Regions from separate parts of the Homo sapiens genome. Here all the other regions are linked to region 1. Evidence: promoter capture Hi-C in 16 types of primary human blood cells and fetal thymus (Javierre and others, 2016). All regions are on one chromosome and are shown on one strand. The core of a region is centred on a gene start or on the middle of the fragment in contact, and the rest is flanking DNA. Distances in the headings are between cores, read along the strand shown.

Region 1 (2,600 bases), core at 63-2,562:
GAAGAACGTGATAGGAGTCCTCTCAGAATCCGAGTCCTCGGTCAACTTTACCCCAAGTTCTTTGAGCGGAACCATTTGCAGACCTTCCCGAATCCGTATCTATCCTATATTGTTTTACAATGTAGACATGTCTCTGAAGGGTTCCATTCGTGTTTCCCTGAAAAGACCCCCTTTGTAGGCCAAATACAAAAACTCAGAGATTACAAATGCCACCATATTTTGTAAGAACTGAAGACATTCCACTTTGTTCTTCCCACCCTGAAAACAACTGCATGCCAGTCTGCGTTTGTCATCTCTCCGTGTCCTTCCCTTCATCAAGTGTCCAATTCTCTTGAATAACGAGAAAATGCACATGAGATCTGAATGCATACAAGTCGCTTAACAACAACAATAAAATAATAATAATAATTTAAAAAAACCCTGAAAGTGAAATATAATTACCAGGTTAAAAAAAAAATGCGCCCAGTTTCGAGAGCCTATCACAGCTCACGTCTGGGCGCGCAGTACCCCCCCGACACTGCTCCTGTTGTGTCAGATAGTGGCAGTGTTGAGCCCAGGAATACGCGCGGAGCCCGCGGCGATCCCCGCGGCCGCTCAGTCTTCGCGGCGGACTCCGGCGCGCAGGAGCCACTGGGCCGCAAGGGCGCCGGGGAGCGGGAGGGGCGCTGGGGGCGGCAAGGGGTCCCAGATCCCAGGCCACGAACTGTTTTCCTTTTCCCCGGGCAAGAGCCCCGCTCCCTTCAACTGACAGAAATTCACTGGGGCAGGGGGGCGAGTGGGGAGAGAGGTCGCTCAGGGCTCGCTACTGGCTGCGCCTCCCCCGGCTCTGGTCTGGGAAGCGGCTCTGGGCCCTCCGGGCGAGCAGCTTGGGCGCCGGCGCCCCCTGCGAGGAAGATCGCGGGGTGACGGTCGGTACCCGTTCGGCTGGGCCGCGCTGCCGCTCCGATCCACCTCCCTTCCGCGCCCGCGCCCTCCCCCTTCCTTTCACTAGGAGTCCGGGATTCGGAGAGGGCGCGGGAGGCAGGCACACGGGCCCGACCCCACTCCAGCGCTCACCGGGGACGCGGGCGGGCGGCGACGGGACGCGGCGGGGGCGCGGGGCGGGCGCGGCCATGGAGCAGCAGCGGCGGCGGCGGCGGCGGCGGCGGCAACACTAGCGACCGCGGGCGGACGAGCGGGCGGGCAGGGCCGCCGGGCTCAGCGGACCGAACTGCACAGCTCAGCAAAAGCGCCCTCGCCCTCCGCGCGCCGCCTCCTGCGAGCCCAAACCCACCAACATTTTTTAACGCTCCAACCCATCCTTTGAAGAAAAGCAAAAAAAAAAAAAAAAAAAAAAAAAAAAGCAAAAAAAGAAAAAGCATTGATCGGAGAGACGGGGATATATATATATATATATATATATATATATATATAAAATTTTTTTTGGCTCCTGCTAAAATTAGCAGGGCTCGCCGCGCGCCTGTGTGCCAGTGTGTGCGAGTGTGTGTGCGTGCGGGCGTGTGTGTGTGAATGTGATTACTCCAGGACTCCTCGGGCTCCGGAGACGCCATTTTCCCCCTTGATATCTCTCTCCATAAATCGGTGGCGCGGCGGAGGCGGCAGAGTCGGGCGGGAAGCGCGGGGCCGGCCGGGGCGCCCGCCGCTCGCCGCCGCCTCCGCGCGCCCGGGGGCCCCGGCGCCCCCCGAGCTAGGGCGGCCAGCTCGCGGCTCGCCGTTTGACAGATGCTCATCGCCATGGAGTTGCCGCAGCAGCACCTTTGGGGGCTCGGGCGAGCGACGGGAGCCGGGATCTGAGCGAGCGCCGGGGCCAGCGGAGCCGGAGCCGCCGGGACATGGGTGAGCACGCGCGGCGACCTTGGCCCGGGAGCCCGGGCGCCCAGCCTCCCTCCGCGCCGCGGGCCCCCGCACTCCCGGAACCGGGGGCGACGTGTGTGCCCTGCATGCAAAAGTTCACGTCGCCTTGCTGGGTCTTTGACTTTGCACCCGGCGGGAAGGGGGAGACCGGGCCGAGGGGGCGGGATGCCGGTCCGGGCGAGGTTGCAGGAGATGGGCGCGATTCCGGCGGGCCGGCGGGTGGGCGGCGATGCTGGCTCAATTGGAGTGGCTCGTTGGTGGCGGCGATGGTGGAAGCTTTGGGCTGGAGGGCTGGGAGCTTATTGAGTTTCGCCTAATCTGATCTACCCCCCCTCCGCCCCCCGCCTTTTGCACCCTCCCTCGGTCCTGCAGCCGGCTGGCGGGGCTGGCGGGTTTGGCGTTGGTGGAGTGGACTCGGGAGGGGGAGGGGGTAAGGAAAGGGGTGGGAAGGCAGGATTTTTTTTTTCTCTCTTTGTAACTTGCAGGTTAAGTGGAGCTAGAGAGCTACATTGTAACCTAGTTGGATTTTTTTGGGGGGGGAATGTATCAGAATCTAACGTGTCGTTAATAGAAAGAAGAACAGGCAAGAAGTGGTCCAGCCGGCGAAGGTTGGTGTGTGCTTGTGTTGTGCCTGTGTGTTAGTCTTTTTCTTAAAAATCTTAATCAATGGATTTGAGTCTCTTTCTTGTGCTCTCTGGTTTTGGGACTCTGAAAAGATAGGAATTCCCTTAAAAGCAGACGAATGC
Region 2 (2,600 bases), core at 76-2,575, 500 kb after region 1:
TGATAAATGATGTCTTCTGAAACAGATTTATGTACCAATTAATAACATCAAAATGTATTTGAAACTCATAAGAAATATAAAAAGAAATTTACAGAAAAACAGTTTACTTTAATATATCTGTGCGACTCTTTATTAAGTAGATTAAGATAATTTGAATATAATAATGAGTTTCCATTAATATGTATTAAACAAGAGTTTATTTTTTAACCTGTGCCATTTCTCTTTAAAAACTTGGGTTAAGAGGAAATCAAAAGTACAATTACAAACTGGTTAAAAAGTTCCTAAAACGAGAGAGTATTTATCAAAATATATGATTTATGGCCAAAAGAGAATCATTGGCAAATTCACACCATTATATGTTTTTGTTTATTAAGCAATAAGAAATGAAAGTAATTAAGCAGCCAAGTAAGTTTCAGAGGATTACCACACTAATCTAAAAAATAAAGAGAGTAAAATAGTATGTATAAAATAAAAATCAATGAATTATGAAATAGGAAAATTAGATAAACAGACTTTTAAAAATAATATTTGGTACGTTAGAAAAAATAATCACAATAAATGACCTTAGGAAAATTGAATCAGGAAAAAAAGATAGGATAAGAGACACAGTACTTTTAAAGTAACACAATACTGTATAAAATGCTATAGTGATAAATTCAAAGAAATGGATCGTTTTCTTGAAAAAGACCTTTCAACATTGATTTAAAAGGAAAAAATAACTGAAAAAAATTGTTAAAGACTGTAACTGATTTGAAAAATGTGTTATTTCAAACTTTGAAAAGATAAATAATTCTCATGTTTTACCAGAGCATAGAAAAATATAAAAAGTAATTAGTAAAAAAATTGACTTTAAAACTCCTAAGGCCAACGAGAGTATTTTATAATACAGAAAAGATACATAGACATCAGAAGCTTTCCTATGTTTCACAAAGAAACAGAAACTATTATAAAAAACAAGTCCTTTTAAAAAATAAATACAAAAATATATAAAGCAACAACAAAAAATATATAAAGTAGAAGAGTATAAAATGTGCTATAGTTTCATTAAGAAAAATCACACAGTTGTCTGAAAAGCATGAAATATGACTTAATACATGAGAAATATGCTACATTTGTACATAGGAAAATTCATATAAATATGACAGTTCTTCTGATTGTAATTTATAGGTTAATTCAATCTGAAGTGATTCTAGAATTTATCTGGAAGAATAAAGGCTACAGATTGCCAAGAAATTTTTTTTAAATAAAAATCATGAGGGAATAATTAAAACAGTACCGTATTGGTGCTAGACTTGACAGATTGGTGACTAGAACAGTATAAATGGCCAAAAACAGAGACTGGTATAGATTAGAATTATGAACAGTTAGATTTGGAAATGTAGTTCCTGGGTCCATCTGTTCATAAGCCCAAGTGATGATGAGGGTACTGTTTGCGCTGGCTTCCCCCAGTGCATTCCCACTGAACCAGATTGAGAGGTCGTCTTTCAGTGCTTTAAACCCAGGCACACCCTTCAGCTTCTTGCTGATCCTCCTGCAATGGCTTATCCTTTAGGAAACCATGTCAGTTCCGTGAAGGCTGATAACACCTCTTGGGGTAGGCCGCTCCCTCCTTGAACATCTCTGTATGTGCTTGGAGACCCTCAGCAGTTAACCTCACCTTTTATCTTGCTGCACACTTTGATGTGCTGATTTGAATGAGCCTTGAAGTGGGATGGATCAGCAGCCTACTCGCACCATATAAAGCTTTTATTTTCTCAAACTCCTATCCTCTCAGAACATTTACCAAACAAGCCACTGATGTTGATCATGTTTCTTTAGCCCACATCCAAAATATTTCCCATTAGCTTTGTTAGTGTAGATTATTGTTTATTGCAGAGGAGTCTGACACTTTCCTAGGTTGCACAATTTGCTTTTGTCCATCTGAGCCTTTTCTTTCCTTTCTTTTCCTTTTCTTTCTTTTTCTTTTTTTCTGTCTTTCTTTCTTTCTCTCTTTCTCTCTGTCTCTCCTTCTCTCTTTCTTTTCTTTCTCTCTTTCTTTCTTTTCTTTCTTTCAAGACAGGGCCTTGCTCTGTGGCTCAGGCTGGATGGAGTGCAGTGGTGTGATCATAGCTCACTGCAGCATCCAACTCCTGGGCCAAGCTATCCACCTCTCAGCCTCCCAACAAGCTGGAACTGTAGGCAGCACCACCTCACCTGGCTAATTTTCTAATTTTTTTTTTTTTTTTTTTTTTTTTTTTGTGAGACATGGAGTCTCATATGTTGCCCAGGCTAGTCTCAAACTCCTGCCCTCAAGCAATCCTCCAATCTCGGGCTCCCAAAGTGCTGAGATTACAGGCATGAGCCACCATGCCCAGCCATCAGGGTCATTTCTGACTGTGGAACTATTCATTCTACACATGTGTGCAATATTTACAAGTTTCTGAGTGCTTGCAATCATTAGTAATGTTCTATTTTTTAAAACTGCTTAAAAATGATCTCTACTTTTGTTTCTGTCATTATCTTACTATAGTCACACTGCTATTGTGTTTATCTGATATAATAGGGTTAATGATGTTAGAAAACTCAAATTTAGCAATGAAAAAAGCAAATACATGTAGTAA
Region 3 (2,600 bases), core at 43-2,542, 480 kb after region 1:
AACCCTCCATAGCCGCCCAGCAATGCCTTTGCTTCCTGACCAATTCTACCTCAGTAACATCCCTCTATTAATTCTCTTCCTGACCTCTATCTGTCCTCAGAGAACTGACACTTCCTCATTCGCAAGCCTGCCTTCTTTCCGGAGTGAACGTTTTTGGTTCTGACGGGTTAGAAGTTTCACTGTCAGACCAGGTCATGCCTGTTACCTGTTGCCCATGGGTGGTTTCCCTCATGGTATTGCAAGGAGATGGGAAATAGACATACCAAATGGTTAAGACAATTCCTTTTTCTGTTTGTTTTGATTTCTAGAGCCAGCCTTGTGGTAAATATGCATCATGTAAGAAAGAGCAGAAGTACTGAGAAATGCCAAGACCATACTACAGTCATACATGAAGAAAAACCAGGATTGGAATGAGTGAATGGAAGTCATGTAACTTTGACTACATTCAGCTCTTAAAGCAAGGCCATTTAACTATCTTACTATCACAAAAGGAAATATATTTGTATGACTGTTTTCTGATTTTAATTGTATAAAAATATTAACTTACTAAATATTATTGAGTACTCATGCTGTACCAGGAAATATTCTGTGAGTTTTACACACATTGGTCCATGTTATCCACACAATGTCACTACAAGATAGGTCGTTTTGCAGCTATAGGAGCTGAGGCTGAAAGCAACATAGCCAAGAATGAGCAGAGATGGATTTTAAACCCAGATTGTCAGGTCCTGCAACCTACACACATAATCATTATGCTTTGTTTAGGGTAATCAACTGTCCTGGTTTCTCTAGAAATAAACAGGTTCCTGTTACCTAGAACGTTCATTGCTAAAACCAGGAATGTCCTAGGCAAACTGAAACAAATTGGTCACTCCAGCTGTGCTACAGGATCAGGGCAACTGCAATGAGGTCTTAAGGGAAATGTTTGTTTGCTAGGGCTCCTGTAAAAGAGTATCACAAACTGGCTGGCTTAAACAACAGAAAATTGTTGTCTCAGAGTTCTGGAGGCCACAGCTCTAAAATCAAGGTATAGGCAAAGTTAGTTCTTTCTGAGGGCTGTGAGGGAGGGATCTGTTGCAGGCTCCTCCCCTTGGCTTATAGATGGCTTTCTTCATGTTCACGTGGCATTCTCACTGCATATGGGTCTGCCTCCAAATTTCCCCTGTTTTTAAGAGTGCCAGTCATACTAGATTAAGGCCTACCCTAATGACTTCATTTTAATTTGATGATCTCTGTGAAGACCTTATCTCCAAATAAGGTCACATTCTGAAGGGGTTAGACCTTCAGCATATGAAGTTTGGGAGACACAATTCAACCCAATGCAAGGATCATTTGATAATCAGGAGTCAGGGTCAAGGTCAGGCCATCAAGTATATCATAAGTCTTCCATTTTGTTGTATGTTCAATTCACCTACATAGCATAAAAATCAAACAACAGAAAACATTGCATTCAAGCCCCATAACAGACCAATTAAGTTGGAATTTTGATCATGGAGCCCCAGTGTTGGAAAAATTGTGAAAGCTCCCCAGATTAGTTTAATATACATCCAGGGCTGAGAATCTATTTGAGCTGAGGACCCTGCAACTAGCGGGATCAGAAGAAACAAGGTTGGGGGAAAGGGTTAGACAAAAACATAGAAGGGGAAAGTATGATCAAGGGTTCGTATTTATAGCAAAATCCCCCATTGGAATTGGGAGTGGTGGCACCAGGAGTTCAGGAGACAGAGGAAGGTGAGACAGGGTCAAGCCAAGAGGTAGTGAACAGAAGCTATGTGCTGACCTGGGCCAAGGTCTTCAGCTCTTCAGACCTGGGAGGAATCATTTACTGGCAGATAATAGAAAGCAGCTGATTTAAAAGCCAAATCCAGGAACTAGACTTGCTCAAGTGTCTGTCGGAGGCTCTATCTGCCCCTCTGCTGCTGCCGTTTATACAAGTCACAGACTCAGCCAGCCTACAGCCACCTCTAATCAGGAGGAACGTGAAGGATGATTTAATGTCTGAAACGTGGAGGCTCACAGGTACCCCACTTTCAGCAGATACACATTGTTTGAAAATCCAGATTTGTAAAATGGATGCATTAGAGAATATTTACTTCACAAAATGATTCACAGTGGGACTCCTTTAAATAGCCTGTTTCCCCTGGGCCAACTGATTTGATTTGCCAGAAGTCATTGCACACAATAGTTTTCCATAAGCACATCTGGCAAGAAGCATCATGAACAAAGTTTTAGAAGACAATAATTCTTGTGTTTCTGACACCAGTTTTGAACTTAAACACATAGTGCACCTCTCTGAGACTTCATTTTCTTATTTGCAAAATGAGAATATGGGTCCTGACTAGTTTAGTATCTTTAAGCAATGAAATATGTGTGAAAATAATTAGAAAATGCTGAAATGTCTTAACAAAATATATTTATGGAAGCCATTATTAACACTAACATGTGGCTTGAGGAAATCTTATGATTCTATTGTTATTTAGCTCATAATATTGGATGTGATGAGATGAAGATGCTTGCTCCATCAATGGCTTCAGGGAGGATGCTTTATGGCCTGAGCTCTGTTCCAAATTAGGACAATTAGGAAGTCTGTCCCTGACTTC
Region 4 (2,600 bases), core at 59-2,558, 460 kb after region 1:
TGCAAGTGCGAGCTACCATACCCAGCCCTGGATATCCTCCTTCTAGCTCTTTGAAACTATATATTATGGTTAACTATAGGCATTCTACAGTGCTATACAACACTAGAACTTATTCCCCTTATTATGTTGTAATTTTGAATCCTTTAGCAAGTATCTCTTTATTCCCGTTTCCCCCACCGTTTTCAACCTCTAATATCTTCTGTTCTACTTTTTACTGATGAAAGGTCAAATTTTTTTTGCTTCCACATATGAGTGAGAATATGTGATGTTCAACTTTCTGTTCCTGGCTTATTTCACTTAACATGATGTCCTCCAGTCCCATCCATGTTGCTTTGAATTAAAAGATTTCACTTTTTTATGGCTGAATAGTATCCCATTGTGTATACCATATTTTCTTTATTCAATCATCTGTTGTTGGACACCTAGTTGATTCCATATCTTGGCTATTGTGAATAGTGCTGTGATAAACATGCGGGTCTGCGCAGAGGTCTCTTCAAGATACTGATTTCCTTTTCTTTAGATAAATGCTCAGTATCTGAATTATATGGTAGTTCTATTTGCAGTTTTTTGAGGAACATCCATATGGTTCTTCATAGTGGCTGTACTAGTTTACGTTTCTATCAACAGTGTGTAAGAGTTCACTTTTCTCCACACCTCACGAGCATCTGTTCTTTCTTGTCTTTTTGATGATAGCCGGGCCAACTGGGGTGAGATGACACCTCACTGTGGTTTCGATTTGCATTTCCCTGATGATTAGTGACACTAAGCATTTTAAAAATATATTTGTTGGCCATTTGTATATCTCCTTCTGAGGAATGTCCATTCAGATCATTTGCCCTTTTTTTTTTTTTTTTTGCTGTTGAGATACTTGAGTTCCTTGTATATTCTAGATATTAATTCCCTGTCAGATGTATACTTTGCAAATATTTCCCCCATTTTGTAGGTTGTCTTTTAACTGTATTGATTGCTTCCTTTGCTATGTAGACGCTTTTTAGATTCATATAATCCATTTGTTCACTTTTGCTTTTGTTGCCTGTGCTTTTGAGGCCTTATTCATAAAATATTTTCTCAGACCAATGCCCCAAAGTGCTTTCTATATGTTTTCTTCTAGTAGTTTTACAGTTTCAGGTCTTACTAAAGTCTTTGATTCATTTTGAGTTGATTTTTTGTAGGATGAGAAGTGGGGGGTCTAGTTTTATTCTTCTGTACATGAATATCCAGTTTTCCAGCACCATTTACTGAAGAGATTACTCTTTCCCCAATGTATGTTCTTGGTGCCTTTGTCAAAAATGAGTTGGCTGTACATAATAGATTAATTTCTGGGTTCTCTATGCTGTTTCATTTGTTTATGTTTCTGTTGTATACCATTTTATCTTTACTATTGGCTCATTATTTATATCTCTTTTAAAATTTTCTTTTCAGTAGTTGCCCCAGGATTTATAGTACACAACTTTAATTAGTCACAGACTGCCTTCAAATGATAGTATGCCATTTCATGTGTAGTGTAAGCACATTATGACACCATACTCCCACTTTTTTCCATCTGTCTTTTATGCTATAGTTATTATACATTATGCTGTTACTACATGCAATAAACACAAAATACATTGTTACTATTTTGCCTTAGAAAATTATATCCACAGTAATAAAAATTAGAATAAAATAAATTTTATACTTACCCTATGTCATTTCCATTGCTTTTTATTTCTTTTTGTATATTCAGTTTATTCTCTGGTATTATATTCCATCTGCCAAAAAAACTTCTTTTAACATTTCTTGCAGTGTTGGTGGTAGTGAATTTTATCAATTTTTGCTTGTATAAGAAATTTATTTTAGCTTTATTTTAGTTTTATTTTTAAAAGATATTTTCACTTGGTAGAGAACTCTCTATTGATGTCTTAAAAATTTAGCAGTTTGAAATTATTCTCCATTCTCTTGCAGCTTGCATACTTTCTGATGAGTAGTCTTCTGTAATTCTTATCTCTCTTTCAGTATATGTAATGTATCTCCCACCAACTTTCCCCCAGCTCCTTCTAGAGTTTTCTCTTTATCTTTGATTTTCAACAGTCCAAATATGATTTGTTTAGGTGTATTTTGGGGGATATAGATAAATATCTTGATTGATGTTCTCTGTACTTCTTGCAGTTGTGAGTTGGATGTTTTCATTAATTTTGAAAAATTTTTGGTCATTATAACTTTCACATTTTTTTCTCCTTTCTCTTCCTATTTTTTTTTGAAATTTCAATTGTAAATACAGTAGACTGTTTGACATTGTCCCACAGTTCTTGGATATGCTTCTGTTTCTTTTCTTTTCTTTTCTTTTCTTTTTCTTGCTTGCTTGTTTTTTTTTTGTTTTGTTTTGTTTTGTTTGTTTTTTGTTTTTTTTGCTTGCTTCCTTTTTCTATTCTTATTTCTTTCTGTTTTAGTTTGGGTACTTTTTGTTGACCTACCTTCAAGTTCACTGATTGTTTTTCTATTCTCTGTTACTCTTTTTATGAGTTCATCAAAGACATTTTTGTATATTTTGTTTCTCTTTTATTTTTGGCATATTCATTTGATTCGATCATGTAATTTCCATCTTTATTTCTGTTCTCTAAAAT
Region 5 (2,600 bases), core at 54-2,553, 440 kb after region 1:
ATTCCATGACAAGATTAAGCATTGTGTTTTTGTGTTTTCCATGAAAACTACCCTCATTCTTTCTTTCTTTTTTTTTTTTTTTTTTTTTTTTTTTTTTTTTTTTTTTTTTTTTGAGATGGAGTCTTGCTCTGTTGCCCAGGCTGGAGTTCAATGGCACGATCTCGGCTCACTGCAACCTCTACCTCCCAGGTTCAAGCAATCCTCCAGCCCAGCCCCCTAGTAGCTGGGTTTACAGGCCCACACCACCATGCCCAGATAATTTTTTGTATTTTTAGTAGAGATGGGGTTTCACCACGTTGGCCAGGCTGGTTTTGAACTCCTGACCTCAGGTGACCCACCCAACTCGGCCTCTCAAAGTGCTGGGATTATAGGCATGAGCCACCACACCAGCCCAAACCACCCCCATTCTTACCACCCAAGTCATGCCTCTTATGTCTGAAGTGCTAGGACCTCTAAGATCTAACCAGATCTTGTACTATTCTGGACTGTACCCTGAAGTGATAAGGAATTTGAGCACAGGAGCCATGTCTTTTCATCCTCTTTCACAGGAAGATGCTAAATAAAAATGTGTTAACTGATTCATAGCTCTGACATTTCCACTCATATTCACAGCCCACTAGACTGCGGTACTTTTCCCTCAAATCTCTGGCTGAAATCCTGTTAAAAGGACAAGCAGGATATTTCCATTCTCAGGGATTGTCAGTAAGCACCAGCCCTGCCAATGCCCACAGATGAGTCCCTGCCTCTTCTGTTCTGTGAAAGTGAGGGGGACCCTATAACCAGCCTCTCCCACTCAGAGAAAGTCATCATTGAGCTCCAAAAGCACTTGCAAATCTGGCTCTCTCTTTAAAGACTGTTGTTATTGAATTTTGATCACCAACAGTGGTAGCAAGGACAACATATGAGAGAGATAGAGAAAAAGAAGGGGAAAGAGAGAGAAAGAGACTGATTCCTTATCCTTGTGGTGATTTAAAAAAAAAAAAGGCATAAAAATTTAGAGACCTGAAATCAAATTATAGTTCTGCTCTTAACCAGCTCTGTAAGCTTGAGCAAGTCATTTCACGAACTTGAGCCTCAGTTTCCTTGCTTCTGAAATGATTATTTGAACTAGATAGTCTCTAATGACCCTTTCCATGTAATGATTCCAAGTGGAAAAGTCACAGGTAGTAAGTTATAAGAAGGTACGCAGGGAGTGGTGATGGGAAATGTGCTAACTCTTGCACTCTTTTCTGGAAAAAAGAAACAAAAATCTGTGTAGTTATTTATATGTCAGCAGAATTAAGGCTCTGGTGCGGCAACCTTCAGAACTCTACTTGGGCAAATGTGGAGATTCCATAGATGAGCATGACAGGAGGCTTATTTATTTGCATGTTTACTTGTGAGTACATGTGCATTTATTCATCATTTACATATTTACTTCATTGTTCAACAGATATCTGTTGAGCATGAAGGACTGTTGCACTGGGGATATAGCTGCACACAAAATAGATAATCCTGGCTTTCATAGGACTTATATTCCAATATTCCAGTAGTGACAGATAATAAATAGATAATACGTGAGCTAAGCTTAAGAAATCTGAAAATGGAGTAGGAAAAGGATATATAGTGAGGAATAGGAAAGGTGCTATTTTAGACATACTTTGTATGTTTGAGGGACAACTAAGAGCACAAAGTGTGTGGAGAGCACAATAAGGAAAGGGGGGAAATGAGATCAGGGCAGTGGCAGGGACAAGTATTATAGCATCTTACAGGAAGGTAGGTGTTTGGGCTTTTATTCTGAGTGAGATGGAAACCATTGCAGGGTTTTGAGTGGAAGAGTGCCACGATCTGACTAGGTTTTACAAGGCTCACTCTGCTGTACTGTGGAGAACACTGTGAAGGCAAGGCTGGAAGCAGAGCGACCAGTTGGGAGACAATTTAAATAACTTGGGAGAGAATGGATGGCTTCAGATTAAGGGCACAGCAATGGAAATGGGGAGACATGTTCTGGAATCTAAATGCATTTCCAAGGTTGAGCTGACAAACAGTGCTGATGAATTATATGTGTGGCATCAGAGAGAGACAGATGTTAAAGATGACTCATATTAAGGAGACTTAAAGTTTTTTCTTTGAGCAAGTAGCTGGTAGAATGAAGATGCCATTTGTGTTATAGGAAATAGAGTGAGAGCATGAGGGCTTTGGTGTAAGGCTTCAAATCAAGAGTCCTGTTTCAAACATGTAAAGCTTGAGTTACCTTTCAGATCTCCAAGTAGGGGTGTGGAGAAGGACATTATAGCCATGCATCTGGGTATCAGAAAAAGGTCAAAGGTAGAGATATAAATTTGGCCATCACCAGCATATAGCTAGTATTTCAGCCCTGAGACTGAATAAATTCACCAGATAAAATAGATGAGGAAGATGACCAAAAACTAAGCCCTGGGACTCTCTGACACTTAAAGGTCAGAAGGATGATGAGAGTGATCAGCTCTATCAAATGATTCAGATTCTGGTAAGTCTACTAGGATAAGGGATTTTATTTAGAATACCCATTGTGACGCAGGCAACTTTTCTTTTCCCTCATTTGCAATTGTTCTTCCAATCAATAGCCTTTCCTGCTCATT
Region 6 (2,600 bases), core at 40-2,539, 420 kb after region 1:
CTCAAAAAACAAACAAACAAACAACAACAATAACAACAAAAAATGAGGACACCGAAGTTCACTGGAGGAAACTCATCTATCCAGTGCCCAGTTGGTTGATTTGCAGGAACCTGAAAATAAGGCTACTATGAAATCCTCTTCCTTCTTCCACCTTCTTGCTTCCTTCCTCTTCTTTCCTATGACCCTGTGCATGACAACATGGGAAGGGTTCCACCTATATATTCAGACCTAATAAAAACCTTGTAAACAGGGTATTTTTCTCCTCGTTCTGTAGATTTAGAAATTTAAAATTTACTAGAGTTAAAAAACCCACTTAAGGCACTTAAATAGTAACTGTTGAAGCTGTGTTTGTCCGATGCCAAATCCTGTGTTCTTACCTCGTTTACTACAAGAATGATATGACTTCCTGAAAGAAACTTTGTTTTTGTATTGCTATGGAAAAATCACCCAAGATATACTAACAAAAGATCATCACGATATGCAAAAGACAGCACAGGGCATGGGACTTTGTGTAAAAAAAGAAATATATAAAAACATATATTTTATTGGATTGAGTATGCCAAACTATTTACACGAATGGACAGTAAATTAATCACAGGGATTACTGTGGAAACTTGGCAAATAAGGCAAGAGTGGGAGACTTCTCACAGTACTTTAAAAATACATGTTAAAATTTGAAACATATACATGGATTATCTCAACTTTTTTAAATTTAAAGCAGGTTTTACAAAGTATATGGCTTTTTATCTTGGCCATTTTGACATGGGGCCTTTTTAACCTGGTCATTAATTACAACTATTATAACTGTATAACTGCATGTCAGACATACTGCAATTATTCATTGTTGAGCCATGCCAAATCAAAACCAGTACAGAAGCCTCAAGATTATGTCTAGAGCTTCTGCTTTTACCAAAAGTACATGAGGACTTTGAGAGAGAGGCATTGTGAGGCCAGCTTCCCAGTCTTTAGCCACCCGACTGCCACAAGGCCTCACGTAGTTTTGCCATGTTGGAATAACCCCTGCCCATGGTCAGTTCTTTAGCCTCATATGCTCATTCACTTTCATTTTCCTCTTGACCAAAAGTAGATCTGTATGGCCAGAATAGATTCACATTATCTAGGTTTATAAGAGCCTGGAATATAAACTACAGAGCCAGCTTAGTAATTTATAATGAGACATATAACAGAAGAGCCAACACATTCTCTCCCGTAGGCAAAGACACATGGTGGTGCAACCTGTATTAACAGATTGCTTAATCCATATGTCGTGAGAACAGGGTGGATGAGCTCTGTGCTGGTGAGCAGTAGTTCAAGGTTGATACTACTATCTCTGCAGCAGGAACAGCTGTGCCACCAGGACCTGGTAGGTTCTGTCCTCAGGTCTGGACACATCTCCCTTGGTCATGGCTTAGATGACCCTGGAACTCCACAGTGTTGTGCTTCTGATAGACATGTTCTCCCTCTTTAGACCTGTTAAAATATTCAGCCTGGTTACGTTTGAACTGGTGACTATTCGGATCTTTAAGATGACTTAGCACAGTTTAGTTCTAATCACTACTTGAATGAATTACACGAACCTGAAATGGCCAGCCTCATTTACCTTAATCTCCAATTTTAGTGTCTCCTTCCTGTGAACTTCTTGCCACACCTACCATGAACGTTCTACAGAACCCCTGTCTCCTGACCCCACTCCCAGGATTTTTCATGCACTCTTCCTGAGAGCTGACCAGCTGTAAGTTGTGGCCAACTGAAAATACTCAAATCTGATATCCAATCCTGAGGCTTTGTTTCCTTCAGTCTGGAAAACTATATTTTCAATTTCTCTGTTTACATGAAAGGGAAATAGTGTATTTTTGTATTAGGACTGTATACCTACATAAGAGTGAGTTGGCCTCCACATTAAGTGTCAGAGAGTACAGAGGAAGGAACCATAAGATTCCTCCAGAAAGGAGGTGAAAGGACTGGATGGAGCATCTTGTTTACTACAGAAGGTGGTGAAAGAGCCACAGACAGACTTGAACAGTCTCACACTTTTGCTGATAGCTGATGCTGCAAGAGAGCATCCAAGGGAATTGAAGATCCTCAAGTCTGTCCTCACTTCTGCTAAGGGTGTTTCCCTGGCAATTTTTTTATAAAGCAAATTCCTCCGGAAAGATCATATATTCAAAGTCAAAAGTGCAGGAGGATGTATGGCAGTGCCTTTCTGGGAACTGTTTTCTTTTTTTTCACGTGAGGTCCTTCCTTTTTTGTTAAACTACATTGTACACATTCATTTCTTGTTGTACACAACAGAAATTCAGAGTAAAAAGTAAGAGTTAGAAACTTCTGTAGCAATGTGACATTTTCTCTACGTCCAAGTGTAAAACCAGTGGACTTTAGCCCAGGAAAAGGGAATAAATGGGTTTGAACATTGTCAAAGTCATGTGGTAAGTGGTACATAAAGCAATCTGCATAGAAACATACGTAATAGGACCATGCACTGGTCTGTAATGAATGAGGGGAAAAATATTGGTCCTTCTCCCTCACAGGTAGCTTGGAAAGCACTTCTGTATGGTGAAAGTCTTCCTCTTGTTCTTATTCCTCAGCTATCCAGTTCCCTC
Region 7 (2,600 bases), core at 56-2,555, 400 kb after region 1:
TTGCATATCGCAGTAAAAAGTTATCTCTCACAGCCCTACTCCTTAGGATCCTCAACGTGAAGATGATGAAGATAAAGGACTTTATGATGATTCACTTCCACTCAGTGAATAGTAAATAGATTTTTTCTTCCCTACAATTTTCTTAGTAATATTTTTTCTCTAACTTTATCATAAGAATACAGTATATAATACGTATGACATACAAAATACGTGTTAATTGTTTATATTATTGGTAAGGCTTCCAGTCAACAGTAGGCTATTACTAGTTAAGTTGAAGGGGGAGTCAAAAGTTATACACAGATTTTTGACCGTGAGGCTCTCGGCACCCCAACCCCGATGTTGTTCAAGGGCCAACTGCATTTTCAATTTCTCCTGTCTTCTGTCACTTTATTTCTGAGTTTTCCTAATTATAAATTATGCTATTATTTCATGTCTCTTATTATTTTCATATATCTTTTGCCTCATTTTGAAACAGTGAATTAGAATTTTGATTTGTGGGCATAAGTTATTGATATGTTTTTAATTCTGTCTCTTTTTCTCTTTTCTTTTTTTTTTTTATTTTTAATTTTTTTTTTTATTATACTCTAAGTTTTAGGGTACATGTGCACATTGTGCAGGTTAGTTACATATGTATACATGTGCCATGCTGGTGCGCTGCACCCACTAACGTGTCATCTAGCATTAGGTATATCTCCCAATGCTATCCCTCCCCCCTCCCCCGACCCCACCACAGTCCCCAGAGTGTGATATTCCCCTTCCTGTGTCCATGTGATCTCATTGTTCAATTCCCACCTATGAGTGAGAATATGCGGTGTTTGGTTTTTTGTTCTTGCGATAGTTTACTGAGAATGATGGTTTCCAATTTCATCCATGTCCCTACAAAGGACATGAACTCATCATTTTTTATGGCTGCATAGTATTCCATGGTGTATATGTGCCACATTTTCTTAATCCAGTCTATCATTGTTGGACATTTGGGTTGGTTCCAAGTCTTTGCTATTGTGAATAGTGCCGCAATAAACATACGTGTGCATGTGTCTTTATAGCAGCATGATTTATACTCATTTGGGTATATACCCATTAATGGGATGGCTGGGTCAAATGGTATTTCTAGTTCTAGATCCCTGAGGAATCGCCACACTGACTTCCACAATGGTTGAACTAGTTTACAGTCCCACCAACAGTGTAAAAGTGTTCCTATTTCTCCACATCCTCTCCAGCACCTGTTGTTTCCTGACTTTTTAATGATTGCCATTCTAACTGGTGTGAGATGATATCTCATAGTGGTTTTGATTTGCATTTCTCTGATGGCCAGTGATGATGAGCATTTCTTCATGTGTTTTTTGGCTGCATAAATGTCTTCTTTTGAGAAGTGTCTGTTCATGTCCTTCGCCCACTTTTTGATGGGGTTGTTTGTTTTTTTCTTGTAAATTTGTTTGAGTTCATTGTAGATTCTGGATATTAGCCCTTTGTCTTTTCCTTTTAATAACTTTTATAGGATTTAGAAGTTGATACTTTTCTGTTTCTAATTTTTATTTGAAATTAGTTTTCCTAAACTTTTAGAAAGAGACAGTGTCCAAGATAGTTTTTCTAATTTTGCAGCACTCCATCTTCTGTCGTTTCCCTGTGGTGTGAAAAATGTTGGTTTGCTTTCTAGGATTTCTTGGCTCTGTTTCCCTCACCCACTTTTATTTGAACCTTCTCTTTCCATCCTTTCTATGGTTCCTAACTTCTCTTATGTCATTTTAAATGACATGAGGATTTGACTATTAAGCATATTCTCAAGGCTTGACCATGTGCTACATGCTGGTAGATGTTAAGACGGCCTAGAGCCCATCTCTGATCACAAGTTAAGGGTCTTTCCAAGTTTAATTGTAGATATGCCACACAAAATAAATGGGCCAGACTACCCACATTGGCAGAGTTAAGGAGAGAAAAATAATATATCTAGATGTAGATAGGAACTGAGTTTGACCTTAAAGAGTAGATATGGACTGCCTGAAAAAGTAAAGAATGTAGGCAGACAGGTCTACAGATGGCCCTGGCCAATCCAGCTCTCCTTCCTCCAGCTCTTATTTCTCAGAATAACTGTAGAACGTTCTAAGAATGTGACATCCTGAAATAAAGAGGAAGTGTCCAGGGCAACACAGTCTCTGCCCTCATCCCTCGTAAAACAGGATGCTCTGCAACACTTGGGCTCAGCAAACCAAGAGACACCCGGGGTATAAAACCCAAGAGCAGAGTGCTTTCTGGGGCCCTCAGCTGCAGTGAAACATACAGCATGTGCAGACAGAACTCCATTCGCCTGGGGCAACTTGCCAGAGCCTGGAGTCTGGCTCCCCAGGGATCCTAGGCTTCTATTTGTTCTTATCTGTGAGTGAAAAATTTGTTTTGCTTCACGTGTGGTGTGACTGTTCTGTCTCACTGAGCTTGAGAACCTTTGCAAAGGTGAGGCATTCCCTGGCATGTGCCAAAAATGCAGGGAAGTGGGTGGGGTGGGGGATGAAAATACAAGCAAATATGTGGTTAAGGTTTATGCACAGGAGCGGACATGGTGGCTCACGCCTGTAATCCTAGCACCTTGGGAGGCTGAGGCGGGC

The links. The method cuts DNA at HindIII sites, captures the fragments that hold promoters and counts their contacts. A CHiCAGO score of 5 or more calls a contact.
Region 2: a contact is called between a fragment that was not itself captured here and the fragment with the promoter of SETBP1-DT in region 1, in 4 of 17 cell types (total B cells, naive B cells, monocytes and 1 more). The highest score is 10.3, in total B cells.
Region 3: a contact is called between a fragment that was not itself captured here and the fragment with the promoter of SETBP1-DT in region 1, in 2 of 17 cell types (naive B cells and monocytes). The highest score is 6.9, in naive B cells.
Region 4: a contact is called between a fragment that was not itself captured here and the fragment with the promoter of SETBP1-DT in region 1, in 2 of 17 cell types (naive B cells and total B cells). The highest score is 6.0, in naive B cells.
Region 5: a fragment that was not itself captured here is called in contact with the fragment with the promoter of SETBP1-DT in region 1 in 1 of 17 cell types (naive B cells); the score reaches 5.8 in naive B cells.
Region 6: a contact is called between a fragment that was not itself captured here and the fragment with the promoter of SETBP1-DT in region 1, in 2 of 17 cell types (total B cells and naive B cells). The highest score is 9.8, in total B cells.
Region 7: a contact is called between a fragment that was not itself captured here and the fragment with the promoter of SETBP1-DT in region 1, in 1 of 17 cell types (total B cells). The highest score is 5.1, in total B cells.

The regions. Positions count from the first base shown.
Region 1 is chr18:44,678,560-44,681,159 of GRCh38, forward strand. It overlaps SETBP1-DT (SETBP1 divergent transcript), which reads right to left and starts at 1,313. Exons shown (of 2, transcript NR_187430.2): 1 at 1,057-1,313; 2 at 1-330. It overlaps SETBP1 (SET binding protein 1), which reads left to right and starts at 2,329. Exons shown (of 6, transcript NM_015559.3): 1 at 2,329-2,462. RefSeq lists silencers at 454-1,093, 1,764-2,013, 2,154-2,203. The HindIII fragment of the contact is 7,071 bases long and covers 1-2,128 here.
Region 2 is chr18:45,181,698-45,184,297 of GRCh38, forward strand. It overlaps a transcript of SLC14A2 not described here. Among named protein-coding and RNA genes, the nearest start is that of MIR4319, 210 kb to the left of the region's middle. The HindIII fragment of the contact is 831 bases long and covers 911-1,741 here.
Region 3 is chr18:45,161,901-45,164,500 of GRCh38, forward strand. The region is part of intron 4 of LOC101927961 (a long non-coding RNA gene); the gene reads right to left. Among named protein-coding and RNA genes, the nearest start is that of MIR4319, 190 kb to the left of the region's middle. The HindIII fragment of the contact is 9,955 bases long and covers 1-2,600 here.
Region 4 is chr18:45,138,991-45,141,590 of GRCh38, forward strand. The region is part of intron 2 of LOC105372091 (a long non-coding RNA gene); the gene reads right to left. Among named protein-coding and RNA genes, the nearest start is that of MIR4319, 170 kb to the left of the region's middle. The HindIII fragment of the contact is 6,545 bases long and covers 1-2,600 here.
Region 5 is chr18:45,120,649-45,123,248 of GRCh38, forward strand. All of the region lies in intron 2 of LOC105372091 (a long non-coding RNA gene), which reads right to left. Among named protein-coding and RNA genes, the nearest start is that of MIR4319, 150 kb to the left of the region's middle. The HindIII fragment of the contact is 522 bases long and covers 1,043-1,564 here.
Region 6 is chr18:45,099,924-45,102,523 of GRCh38, forward strand. All of the region lies in intron 3 of LOC105372091 (a long non-coding RNA gene), which reads right to left. Among named protein-coding and RNA genes, the nearest start is that of MIR4319, 130 kb to the left of the region's middle. The HindIII fragment of the contact is 3,343 bases long and covers 1-2,600 here.
Region 7 is chr18:45,079,624-45,082,223 of GRCh38, forward strand. The region is part of intron 3 of LOC105372091 (a long non-coding RNA gene); the gene reads right to left. Among named protein-coding and RNA genes, the nearest start is that of MIR4319, 110 kb to the left of the region's middle. The HindIII fragment of the contact is 4,823 bases long and covers 1-2,600 here.